Regions from separate parts of the Homo sapiens genome. Here regions 1 and 3 are each linked to region 2. The links are contacts of gene promoters, found by promoter capture Hi-C in human tissues and cell types (Jung and others, 2019). All regions are on one chromosome and are shown on one strand. The core of a region is centred on a gene start or on the middle of the fragment in contact, and the rest is flanking DNA. Distances in the headings are between cores, read along the strand shown.

Region 1 (3,808 bases), core at 1,090-3,589, 330 kb before region 2:
CACAAATAACAAAAGAAAAAATAGATTAAAATACGGCTATAATTTAAAACAAAAAAGAAAAATAAGTTTTGGCAAGGATGTGGAGAGACTGAAACCTTCACACCCTGCTAGTACGAACGCTAGTGAGAACATAAATTGTTCAACTGCTGTAGAAAACAGCTTGGCAGCTCCTCAAAAAGTTAAATATAGAATTAACGTATGACCCAACAATTCCACTTGTGTGTGTGTGTGTGTGTGTGTGTGTGTGTATATATATATATATAAAATTTCTTTTCAAAAGAATTGAAAACAGGTACTCAAATATATGTACACGTACGTTCATAGCAGCACTATCCACAATAGCTAAAAGGTGGAAACAGTCTGAATGTCCATCAACTGATGAATGTATAAAACGTGGCATATCCATATAGTATTATTATAAATTGGAATATACAATATGGAACATGTATATGAATATTATTCAGCCATAAAAAGGAATGAAGTACTGATGCATGGTACAACATGAATGAACCTTGAAAACATTATGCTAAGTGAAAAAAGGTACGCACGCAAGGTCACAATATTGTATGATTTCATTTATATGAAGCTTCCAAAACAGGCAAATACTTAGAGATAGAAAGCAGATCAGCAGCGGCCAGGGATTAGGGCAAGAAAGAACGTGGAATGACTGCTTAACAAGTACTGTGTTTCCTTTTGGGATGCTGAAAATACTGGAACTAAATAGAGATGATGGTTGCACAATATTGAGGATGTACTAGAAGCCACTGAACTGTACACTTTCAAATGCTTAATTTTATGTTACATGAATTTTACCTCAATAAATAAATGAAATCAGGTAGATTTATACATGAATATGACACAGTACATTCTCACAACCCCAATCTCCATTCCAGTTTGAGAATCACCAATCTATTAGGTCCCAGCACTCTATGATTCTAATTTCTGCTGAGTTATTTGATATTGGTAGAAAATTAACATTGACAGAATTAAATTCCTAAGGATAAGAAATAGCAAATATGCTTCTATTTTACTACCTTTGTAAAAAGACCAGAAAGAATAAAAGTTGTATGCAATTACACAAAGTGTTCATGTTTAGAATCACAGGAGATGAAGACAATATGTCTTACTTTACACAGTTCAAAAACCTATTTCAAAGATTAAGTAGCTTTTAAGAGGTTAATCATCTATGTAAATTACATATTCCATGCTTATAATTAATACTGAACTACAATAAAAATCTGGCTTAAAACTTACCGTAACTGATTAGAGAAGTCATCCTCTACATTGTCATCATCCCAATTATCCTCCCAGACATGTGCATCTTCATCTTCATCTAAGCCAGCCCAGTCTAAAAATAGAAACAGATGCTGTCTAAATATTTCTCATACATTATTTCCACAATTACAAAAACTTTGAAAAGCTTGCTACTGAACACTCACAATTCAAAAACAGCTAAAACCATATCTATGAAAAATGGTATCTTCCTTAAATCTGAGCTTATGCTGTCTAGTTCTCTCAATTCTTGAGTTTGCAGATAACCTAAAACAGAAGTTAATACAAAAAATTCTACTTGCCAAGAAACTTACAATTTCAGGAGGATATTTACTTTACTGATTTTTCTTTGAACTCATTTTTAGAAGGTCGACTTCACAATCTTTCAAAACACAACACCAACAACCCTAAAGCAAGTTGAATGGCAGGAAGATACCAGTGTGAAATTCAAAACTGCAAAACGTAAGGATAACTTATATACAAATATTTAAAAGTAGACCAAACTGTAAGCCACCACTAGTATCTGCCTAATACAACTGATACAAAATTTATATTTTTAAAGGAAGAATAAACATAAATATGCATAAAGAAGAATATTGTAGTTTTTAGTTTTCTAGATTTTCTTCCTCCCTTTGGTAGTGGTAGAGGGGAGGTTTAGATTGAGATTTCAGCTTTTGTTTAGAATGGTGAGAAAGTACGTACGTATTACCACTATTCTCTAACCTCAAATCTCAAGCTTTAAATATGCTATGTGGGTTGAGCCTGGAAATAGAAATTATCTATTTGATAGTTATTTTAAGGAGTCTTTATAAAGATGTCTAATGGAGTTTTATGTTACAAAAAAATAATTTAAATAAAGACTAGATACTATGTTCTTGAGTAAAGGGGGTGACATAACTCAAAATCACAACAGAACTGTTTCAAGGTTCTAAGACAACAAGCAGATTCTACTCAGCTTGAACCACTTCCAAATAACCAGCTTCCTAAACTGTTAAGTAGGTCGCTTCCATCTGCATTGGTCCCTAAAAAGGAAATAATCATGTGTCAAAAGATTCAAGCCAGAAATATAAAATAATATTTTACACTTTTCTGCTAACCTTGTAAGTCTTTGAAAAATACTGTAGAGCCTTATCTTTTAAAGCAACTATCTTTTAAGAAACAAAATTTTTCATCTAATTATGATTTGATTCAAAATGTTATTTCAATAGTTATTAAGTGATGTCTTCAAGTTGACTTTACTTCTTTTAACTTAGAGAGGGGAAAAATATTTAAGAATGGTACAATTTTTTTAGTTTATAAAGTTAAACTCTGATGATCATTTACAACAAAGATAAAGCATCTCTCCCTCGTCTAATAACCATCTCACCCTATTTTAATGGCTGGGAAAGGAAAGGAAAAAGTAGAGATAAAGTCCCAGGAAAAAGGAACTGGCTCATGAAGAGGGGGAAAAAGAATACTGTGAGCAACATTTTAGGTAGAACATATAAAAAAGATTCATAACAATACCTCTATAGTTCTTTCGTATTACTATACAGTACTTCATAGTTATGACACTACTGAGTAAACAAAGACGAAAGAGCTGGCCAAATTCTTCGTTAATTATCTGATAAATCTAGATAAACTTTGTAGCCTTAATACCATTATCTTAAGCAGTAAGAAGCACTAATGTCTACGTAATAGCATACCACCCTTCCAATTATCATAGATGAGGAATCTGAGAAATAACCTTTCTATTACAACTTATTAAGCAGTTAAAATTAATATGAGCACTGTTAAGAAAAATAGTGCTAACACTGACAAACCAGAATCTATTTTGGATGGATATTTTAAACAGTGTATTAACCTGGATTATGTACTTAACTATATTACATAAAAAGCTTATGTGATAGGGTATAATGCCCCAAAATAGTATGTCCAACACTTACAAATTCTCTATACTATACATACATGTTACAATATATGTAAGTTACAATACATACAAACTCTACTCAATGTATAACATGAAAAAGCTGTAACTATTGTAATCTCTGGGTTTAGCTGACATCTTCTTGGATCTCTGAATTGTGTTTTAATTTTCAACTCTAACACTACACTGACAACCAAGCAATTTTAATCACTCAGTTTTAAAGGGTTAACTCCAGAAATAGTTTTGAAAAGGACAAAATATAACCAAACAATGATACCCATGATATCTGATATACCTCATGTCTAATGCCATCCTTCAATATGTAGATGGCCTTATAAAGCATACACTTTACCTTAAACACTAAATGCATTGCCAGAATTGTGATTAATCATGTAAATAACCACAGCTGTATTTGCTTCAATGTGTATGCCTCCAGATGTGTACTGGTTTAAAAAAAAAAAAAAACCCTACATTTTAAAAAGTCAGAATTGGAAATAACCAGTAACAGATGCCTAATACATAAGTTTCTAGCAATTCTTATTTTAGACGTTGTCCCAAATTGGGCTTTCTTCACTTTGGCTAGTTGAGAATTACATCTGTGACTAGCTTTAAATTTAAAAAATCTGAGCT
Region 2 (3,797 bases), core at 845-3,344:
CCAGCCCCTCCCCAGGCTTCAAGGAGGTGGCCCTGGGCCGTGACCCTACTTCTGTCGGCGTCTGTTCGGGCGCCCGCAGAAGCCAGACTCTTGGGCAGGGAAGACGCTAACCGAGGTCTCCAAAGTTCAAAGACCCACAAGCAAACTGCTCCTTCACTTCAGCAGCAAGCGGTCGGGGCCGCCGCAGACAGAGGGTCGATTATGCAACCCCCATAATCTCGCTGCAGATCTGCGAGGGCACAGATGTGTCTGGTTTCTTTTACAAATAGACTTAATATGTTCTTGGCAAAAAAAAAAAAAAAAAAAAGAAATCTTCCACTTATGCACGGAATACAGAGAGAGTGAAAGAAACGTAGACACCTCAACCCGGGGCTCTCTTTTAAAGTTCAGCAAGAGTCACACACTGAGAAGGAACCGGTGGTGGGGTGTTTTCGTAGGAAAGGGGCGGCAGGTCAGGATGAGATTCTCACTGTCATGAGTATGGGTTTGGGCGGGAGGGGGAGGGATTGCCAAACGCGTGTTGTACAAACCTGCCCTGGGGCTACAACTCCCCTTCCTCAAAACTACCACCCCTCTGGAACTGACGGAGAACCTCTCCAGGGTGTGTGTGTGTGTGTGTGTGTGTGTGTGTGTGTGTGTCAAGTTCCAGGGAGAAGTGTGGAGGATGAGGGCTGTGGTCTCAATTCTGCCAGAGTAGGGGATGCTAATATTAGCAGGATTATTAATGTGCTGGTGGGAAGAGATCAAACCTTACCAATAAAACCTCTCCGCCGAGCCTCATGCCTTTCTCTTACCGCCCAAGCTCACTAACCCTCTTAAACTCTCTAAGTAAGTTTCAAAGCGGACGAAAAAGGAGGACGGAAAGACAAATTGTGGGCGCCTATGGAGACAGAAAAAAAAATCTATCCTACAACGTGACCCCTCAGCAACCCTCCTCCACCTTTAAATGGCTTTTTGTTTTTGGAAATGCCTGGATAAACCGCAAAACTCTCGGCGCGCTCTTCTCTGGCTGGCTACAACTCCTTAACCCCCCCACCCCCACCCAGCGTGCTCAGGGCACCCGCACCGTGCTAGCTTGTGGCGGCTCTCAAACTAATCCTGACTGAGTTTTTGAGGCAGCCTTCTATTCCCACTCGCACCAACCCAGCACGCTTACCAAAATTCCCAAGTAACCTTCTCTTTGTTACGCAAACGCCAGGAGCTGCTTGATTCTTTCTTCTCTCCACCCCTATCCCCTTTCCAGCCTAGCCGGCTTCCTGGCCGGGCAAGCTGGGAATTCAGCGACTGAAGGGCCTTGGAAGGTGCCGGAGGGGAGAGACGCTAGTTCGAACCTCCACAGGGCTCTCCTACTAAAAATCCCTAAAATGCTGGCCCGAGAAACTCTCTTTGTTGGAGGGTCTGAGTCCTACTCCCTTCTGCCGCGTGCGCCCCCACTGCCGTGAACCGCTGTGACCCCCAATCTACCACCCCATCTCGCGCCCCCAGCGTCCTAGTCGCCCTGTATCTGCCCAGCCTTCCCCCTGTCCATGTACCTGGCTGGTTGGTGGCGCTTGGGACGCGGTTGTAGGCGCCGCCGTACTGGTGGTAGGAGCTAGCGTAGCTATAGTCGGCATAAGCTTTGGCTGGGTAGCTCCCGGCGGAGCCGTTCACGCCGTGATACTGATACTGGTAGGGGTTGAGAGCTTTGCCATAGGAAGCCGAGGTAGGAGAGCAGTAGCCGTGCGGGGCTCCCCCCGTAGGGCTGTAGTAGTCAGAATCGGTAGCTGAAGACTCGGGCAAAGTTGGCGATTCCTGAGACGGATGGTGCATAGCTGCGGACGTCTGGAACGGAGCTTGGAAGTCGCCGGATCGGATGCTGGGGACCCTTCTGTCAAACACTCCTGTCATCGCTCACGGGCGGCGGCAGCGGCTGTCCTTGCTGTTGTGGCGGCGGCAGCTGCCCTAGTTGGCTGTGGGGCTGCTCTGGTCTAAGCAGACATGGCTGTGGGAGCGAGGGAGGAGGAGGAAGAGGAGGAGGAGAGAAGGAGGAGGCGGCGGCCGCGGCGAGGAGGAGACTGGGAGTCGTGAAGTCTCTGTCTCCGGCCGGCTGACTGCTGGCTGAGGCGCAGCACAGCCTTGGTTAAATCCTTAATTGCGCGCTTACGCACAGCGGGGTGGATCTGGTTCTATTGGCCAGGGCCTCGGGAGCAACAGTAACACCCTAACTCGTCCAACTAGTTTTAGCACAACAAAGCATTGCTTAAAAAGGGGGTGGGGGGTACTGAGGGGGTGTGTGTGTTTGTGTGTGTGCGCGCCCGCGCGCTTGTGTGTGTTTTTGCTTGTTGTGGAGTGGGGAGGGGTCTTAGTCTATCTGTTTTTAGTAAATTCCAAAGACATCGCAGAAGCCACAGCACAAGGCTCTGTGATGTCTGGGGACAATGTGTTCCAATCAGAAGCCTCAAAAGTGCACATGTTTTGGGAATGAGGTGGGCGACCATCTTTCCTTGCTTCCCACTACCCCGCCCCCGTGGGCTGCACCAAAGGCGAGTGTAGAATTAAACACTGATACTGAAATAGGGAGTCAAGGTGCAGGGAGTGGGGAGCGGGGGGATGTAGGATGGAGGCAAGAAGGAAGGGAAACAGCATTTTTTTTTTTTTTAGTGGAGTGTTGGGAAGCAAGTTGTAACTTACATGTTTTGAAAATTTGCTCTTTGGGGAAAGAGGCAACTTCCTTTGCAGGAGATGAGTATCTCCCGGACGCGGGCTGGACAGGAATGCCCAAGAAGGCACAATGTCCATTAAGCCGGTGAATGGCAGGGAGAGTTCCTGCAGCCCAAAGTCCTTATAATGACTTTTAAAAATTACTGTCTTAAACACATATAACTTAAGGAAGCCCAAATCCTCGTTGCTGGCTTGCAAAAAGAGCCAAACAGCTCCACTTCTGTTTAATATTTTCATCTATTTTCAAGACATTGGAATAAAGGCTCTTTAACTATGTTCAGTGGCCAAAGACTCCCGCAAAGGTGAATGGATCCATGTATAACCTGCCATACCTCCAGGAAAGAATGGGAAAGTCTCGGAAGTGGGGAAGGAGACAAGGATCAAAGCCTTTGCAAAGTCAGATGATGCTCATTGATTTCCCCCTCCTGGCTCCATGAATGTGGCCCAGTCTCTCCATTTCCCAGACCCGGGTTTCTGTACCCTCTCCCCTTTATTTCCTGCTGCAAAGACATCCTACTTAGCTCGTATGCAAGGGAAGAAAGGATTCAAGAATCATTCAGTTGATACACGAGATCTAAACTTTGCTCTTCAGGAGGTGCTATCCTTGTTCTAGTCGTGATTCAGCTGGGAGTTTAGAAATTCAGCATAAAAGTCTCTCCCAATCCCCATTGTTACTCCCCTCAAATAGGCAACTCCGCGGACTAGATCCTGATTTGGGGCCTTCCTACATCTTCCTTTACGGGGTCCAAGACCGGCAATCTGGGAGTTCCACAGGCTATCTAGGGTTATCTGGCCTCCCCTCCGTTTTCCCTCCTACCGAAGAAGAAAGCGTCTGTGTTAGTTGTGTCTAGTATTAGTTTAGCCTTACTTGGAGTGTGGAGCCACTCGGCCTAAAACAGGCCGACGGGTAGAGGTAGGGTGTCTGGAACTCAGAGCAAGATACAGCCCCGCTCAGGAACTCCAAAGCAGAGCTGCCGTGCGTGCACCAACTCCCTGCCTTTGCGGTCTGGACTGCACCAGAAAAACACAGCTATTGTCGCACTTCCTTTCGGGGGAAACTTCAGCACCGGGAGACTGGCGCCCAGCAGCATTCTCCT
Region 3 (3,778 bases), core at 203-2,702, 310 kb before region 2:
CATCTTTATTAGTATTATGAGTACTTTGTACCCAGTGATTGATTCTGGACATTGGGAAGAATTACAATCCCAAATAGACGGAGCTTTTTTGGCTCTTTTGTCATAACAAAATGCCTGGACAAATGAAAATATGAAAAATTATCATTGTAAGCTCCCTGAAATATTTAGATCTCATTGTAGAACAATTACTAATGAATAAAGATACAGTTATTGAAAATGTAAATGCTAATAATGAGAAGTACTTAATCTACCACAACATAAGAGCCCAGCCCAAAAAGACCCTATTTTGGACCAAACTACCTGTTCAAAAATCGGTATTTGCATGCCCAAGACTTGTTTGAAAAGGCGATTATGGTCTCACAGGTAAATCATAAGAATTTTTAAAATTTTGTAAATGCTGTATTTATATGACAGACAGGAACCACTCTGAAGGAATCATTATGGTTTGGGAAATGATATGCAATTTCAAAATCATCTAAATCATTTCAATTGCCTGTATTTACATTTATATAATGGGTATTTATAATGGTGATTATTTTAGAACTTACCTTGTTTTCCAGGATCTCACATTGGTTTCTATGGGAACGAGAATGGCTCTGAAGAGGAGCATTTTAAGAACTCTTTTCACATTCAGTGACTGCTAACTGAACTGTAAATTCTGTTTGTCTGTTAACGGTTTTTAACATTTAGATTTTAACACAGAAATAGAAGTTGGGCATTCTAGCCTCATAAATCATTTTAAATAATAAAAACTATTTTTATGAAACATCTGGCACATTTGAAACATTTGAAAAACAAAATAACTAGCTTTAGGAGCTAATAATCTGTTCACTTTATTAAATTCATTAATGATTAATCCACATTGGCCATGTGCTTGCTCTTAGAAAATTGTGTAAAGAAGAACTTCATCAGAAATATATTGTTTTAATACACTTTCTCTGCTATTTATACATATGTGTGTGTGTGTATATATATATATATGTTTTCTTAGTTGTATAAAATCCCTTAAAGTAGTATAAAATGTTCTGCATTTAAAGTTTCTTCTCTGCTAATACCTCACTCATCCTGTGCTATTATTTGCCCTGGTATCATGTTGTACCTTGACCATGAGTTGGTACTTTATCCATGTTCTTATACCAGTTGGAACTTATTTTTACTATTTTTTGAAACAAGCTCATAAGTCTTTGAATTTCAATTTTTCTTTTTCTTGGAAGAAATTTTTAGATCATAAAAAGCCCAATGTGTAACTTATGGATTACGTTTGTTCAGTTTAAAACTGTATTTAATATTTCCTCACATTTCATGTTTTCCAATTAATTTTATTTTTTTTTAATTCCCTGGAAAAATGAAATTTCAATATATCATTATTTAATTCCTTCTCAACATAATTAAAACCCACTAAAAATAAGAGAAGCCTATTCCAGAAAAGAGTGCTAAAACTCAAAATTTTTCTTGTACCCAAACTATAAAAGATGCTAGCTGAAAGCATATGCATCCCATAACCAACTTATGTAATAGCTACTCCAGTTATTTCTGATATACGATCTATGTCTTAAATCCGAAGAGTAAAGGTTGGTGGCAGACTGCCAGGTGGGGTAGAATTAGCACTGGGTGATTTTGCCTTCCTTTTGATTGGAATGTGTTTGCTTGCTGTCAGCCTATCCCTGACGGTAGGCTGCCAGAGACTAGTGTCAGTTTGAGAAGTGGAGCTGCTAGCATCGCTGTGACTAAGGGATCATTCTGTAACTCAGGGGTCTGGTGTAAGCTCCATGGAATTAATTTTTTCTTCTTTCTTAAAAGTATTTTTCATTCAGATTTGATTTTATGATATGAATTAAGGATTGCCACACTTTGAAAAAAGGTGACGATAAATAAATGAGAAATATGTAATCAAATGTTTTGAGAGGAATGATTAATTGATTTGCTATTCTATTTTTTTAAAGTTGATTTTGAATTGAAGTACAAAAATTGAAAAGTAAAATCAAGTCTAATGTTAATCATTAGAAGAGAAAGAGTTATCTTGAAAAGTATCTGTCAGGCCTCTGAGCCTATATCTGAATCTGAAGGTGAGGCATATAATTGTCTAGCACAGAGCTACTCAAAGTGGGGTCCCTGGACCAGCGCCTATAAAAGACAACTATAGAAAGTGAGCATAAACATGTAGAAACTCTTAGAGCAGTTTGACACTGCCACTTCATCCAACCCTGTGATTTCGTATTTTATAAAAATCAGCCCATGGCATTTTTGAATTTTAAAAATTTGCCCTTTACTACAAATGGAGATGGATTGATTTAGCATAAATTACTGTAAGCAGAAAAGAGTGTCATTTGAACTTCATATATTGAGAATAATTTATCCTGTGTGATTCTGTCTGAAAGCTGGGAAGTGAGGTGTTTTTCTCTCTGAAAAATCTCTTTCTAGCCCTAGAATAGCATATTTATATTCATAAGATTACAGCAAAGGAGGCTGAAGCTGATGTTGTGCTCTCCTTTTGCAGATATAAAAACAAAAGTACAAAGGGCTTAAGTGAGATGTCTGATATTACACAATTAACATCAGAATTTAAAATCAAGTTAAGTAAACAGCATTGCACAGAACTTATTTAATATTCTGATGAGTAAAATGAAAACACCCTAGGTTGATTATGGCATCAAATTGGATATATTTGTAATTATATATGGCAGATGTCAGTGCTTTGTCTTAAGGTTTCTGATGGAAAAGCATTGTGATAGTCGTTCAATGGGTGAACAGTGAAACTATACATACTGCAAACCAAGGTGATGAGTTGGAAGGAATTCAATAACCAAAACCAAAATTAAACAAAGAGAATGAAGAAAGATTAAGGTAGGAACACATAGTTTGGTTAAAGAACTAATAGAGCAGAAATGTAAGTCCACAACTCTCTGAAAGGTATAAAATTCCAAAAGAAAAAGGGTTCACCTTGGACTGTAAATAGGAGAAATAAAATGAAAATAAGAAAGGGAAAGTTTAGACAAAACATTGGGGATTCTTGTTAATTTTCAGGAGTATTAGGTTAGTTGAGTGGGTGCCCAAAAGAATCTCTAAGGACATTTAAAACTTCATTGAACAAAGCCATGGACAGTGTATTGTGGTGAGCAAGAAGACTTAATGGCAGGGGGATGGTCTGGATCAACCATGAGGTGTTTTTCAGCTCTAATTTCTAGTATACCATAGCTCTGTGAAGAATAGTTGCTAAATTGCTTGATCAACCCAGACAAATAAAACTCAAAACAGGAATAAATTCCCAGACAAAACAATAAAGTCAGCCAAAATTGAAACACACCCCTCAGAATAACAAAGAACCCTAAATCTTGCATCATACCCCAAAGACGACAAATTCAGTTTCTGGCAGCCTGCCCAGAAGAATAAATTCCAGAGACTAGATCCTTCACTGAGTAAGCCCAACCAACAGGTTGGGAGAGTTCAACTTCTCAGACACGCAAAACCTCCCAGCAGATATTAATATTAGAGCAGACTAAAACTGAAAGGGAAAAGTGATATATTAAACAGCTTGATCTATGAGTGAACTAATTCCTGTATTCATTCTTCAAGGAGTTATTATGGAGTACCTACTATCTGCCAGCTACTATTCTGGGGTAGGGTACCTCAGTGAACCAAACACTGAAGAGATCTACCCTTGTGGAGTTTACGTTCTAGTGTGAGGAACAGTAAAGAACACGGTATGCCATATCTTCAGTAGGTGGGAAGTGCTAAGGGGAGTAGATAGCAGGCTAAGGAATATGGCGGGCAGGGTTGG

The links. Contacts are between HindIII fragments. The study calls those that stand out against the background at their distance.
Region 1: a contact is called between a fragment that was not itself captured here and the fragment with the promoter of DLX5 in region 2, in 1 of the 25 tissues and cell types used here (mesendoderm cells).
Region 3: a fragment that was not itself captured here is called in contact with the fragment with the promoter of DLX5 in region 2 in 1 of the 25 tissues and cell types used here (spleen).

What each region holds. Positions count from the first base shown.
Region 1 is chr7:96,693,544-96,697,351 of GRCh38, forward strand. SEM1 (SEM1 26S proteasome subunit) reads right to left here. Exons shown (of 3, transcript NM_006304.2): 2 at 1,255-1,348. Among named protein-coding and RNA genes, the nearest start is that of SEM1, 14 kb to the right of the region's middle. The HindIII fragment of the contact is 4,440 bases long and covers 120-3,808 here.
Region 2 is chr7:97,022,737-97,026,533 of GRCh38, forward strand. DLX5 (distal-less homeobox 5) reads right to left here and starts at 2,095. Exons shown (of 3, transcript NM_005221.6): 1 at 1,533-2,095. The coding sequence starts at 1,887. RefSeq lists enhancers at 1,601-2,317, 3,244-3,759. The HindIII fragment of the contact is 6,057 bases long and covers 640-3,797 here.
Region 3 is chr7:96,717,709-96,721,486 of GRCh38, forward strand. No RefSeq gene overlaps it. Among named protein-coding and RNA genes, the nearest start is that of SEM1, 9.8 kb to the left of the region's middle. The HindIII fragment of the contact is 5,097 bases long and covers 1-3,778 here.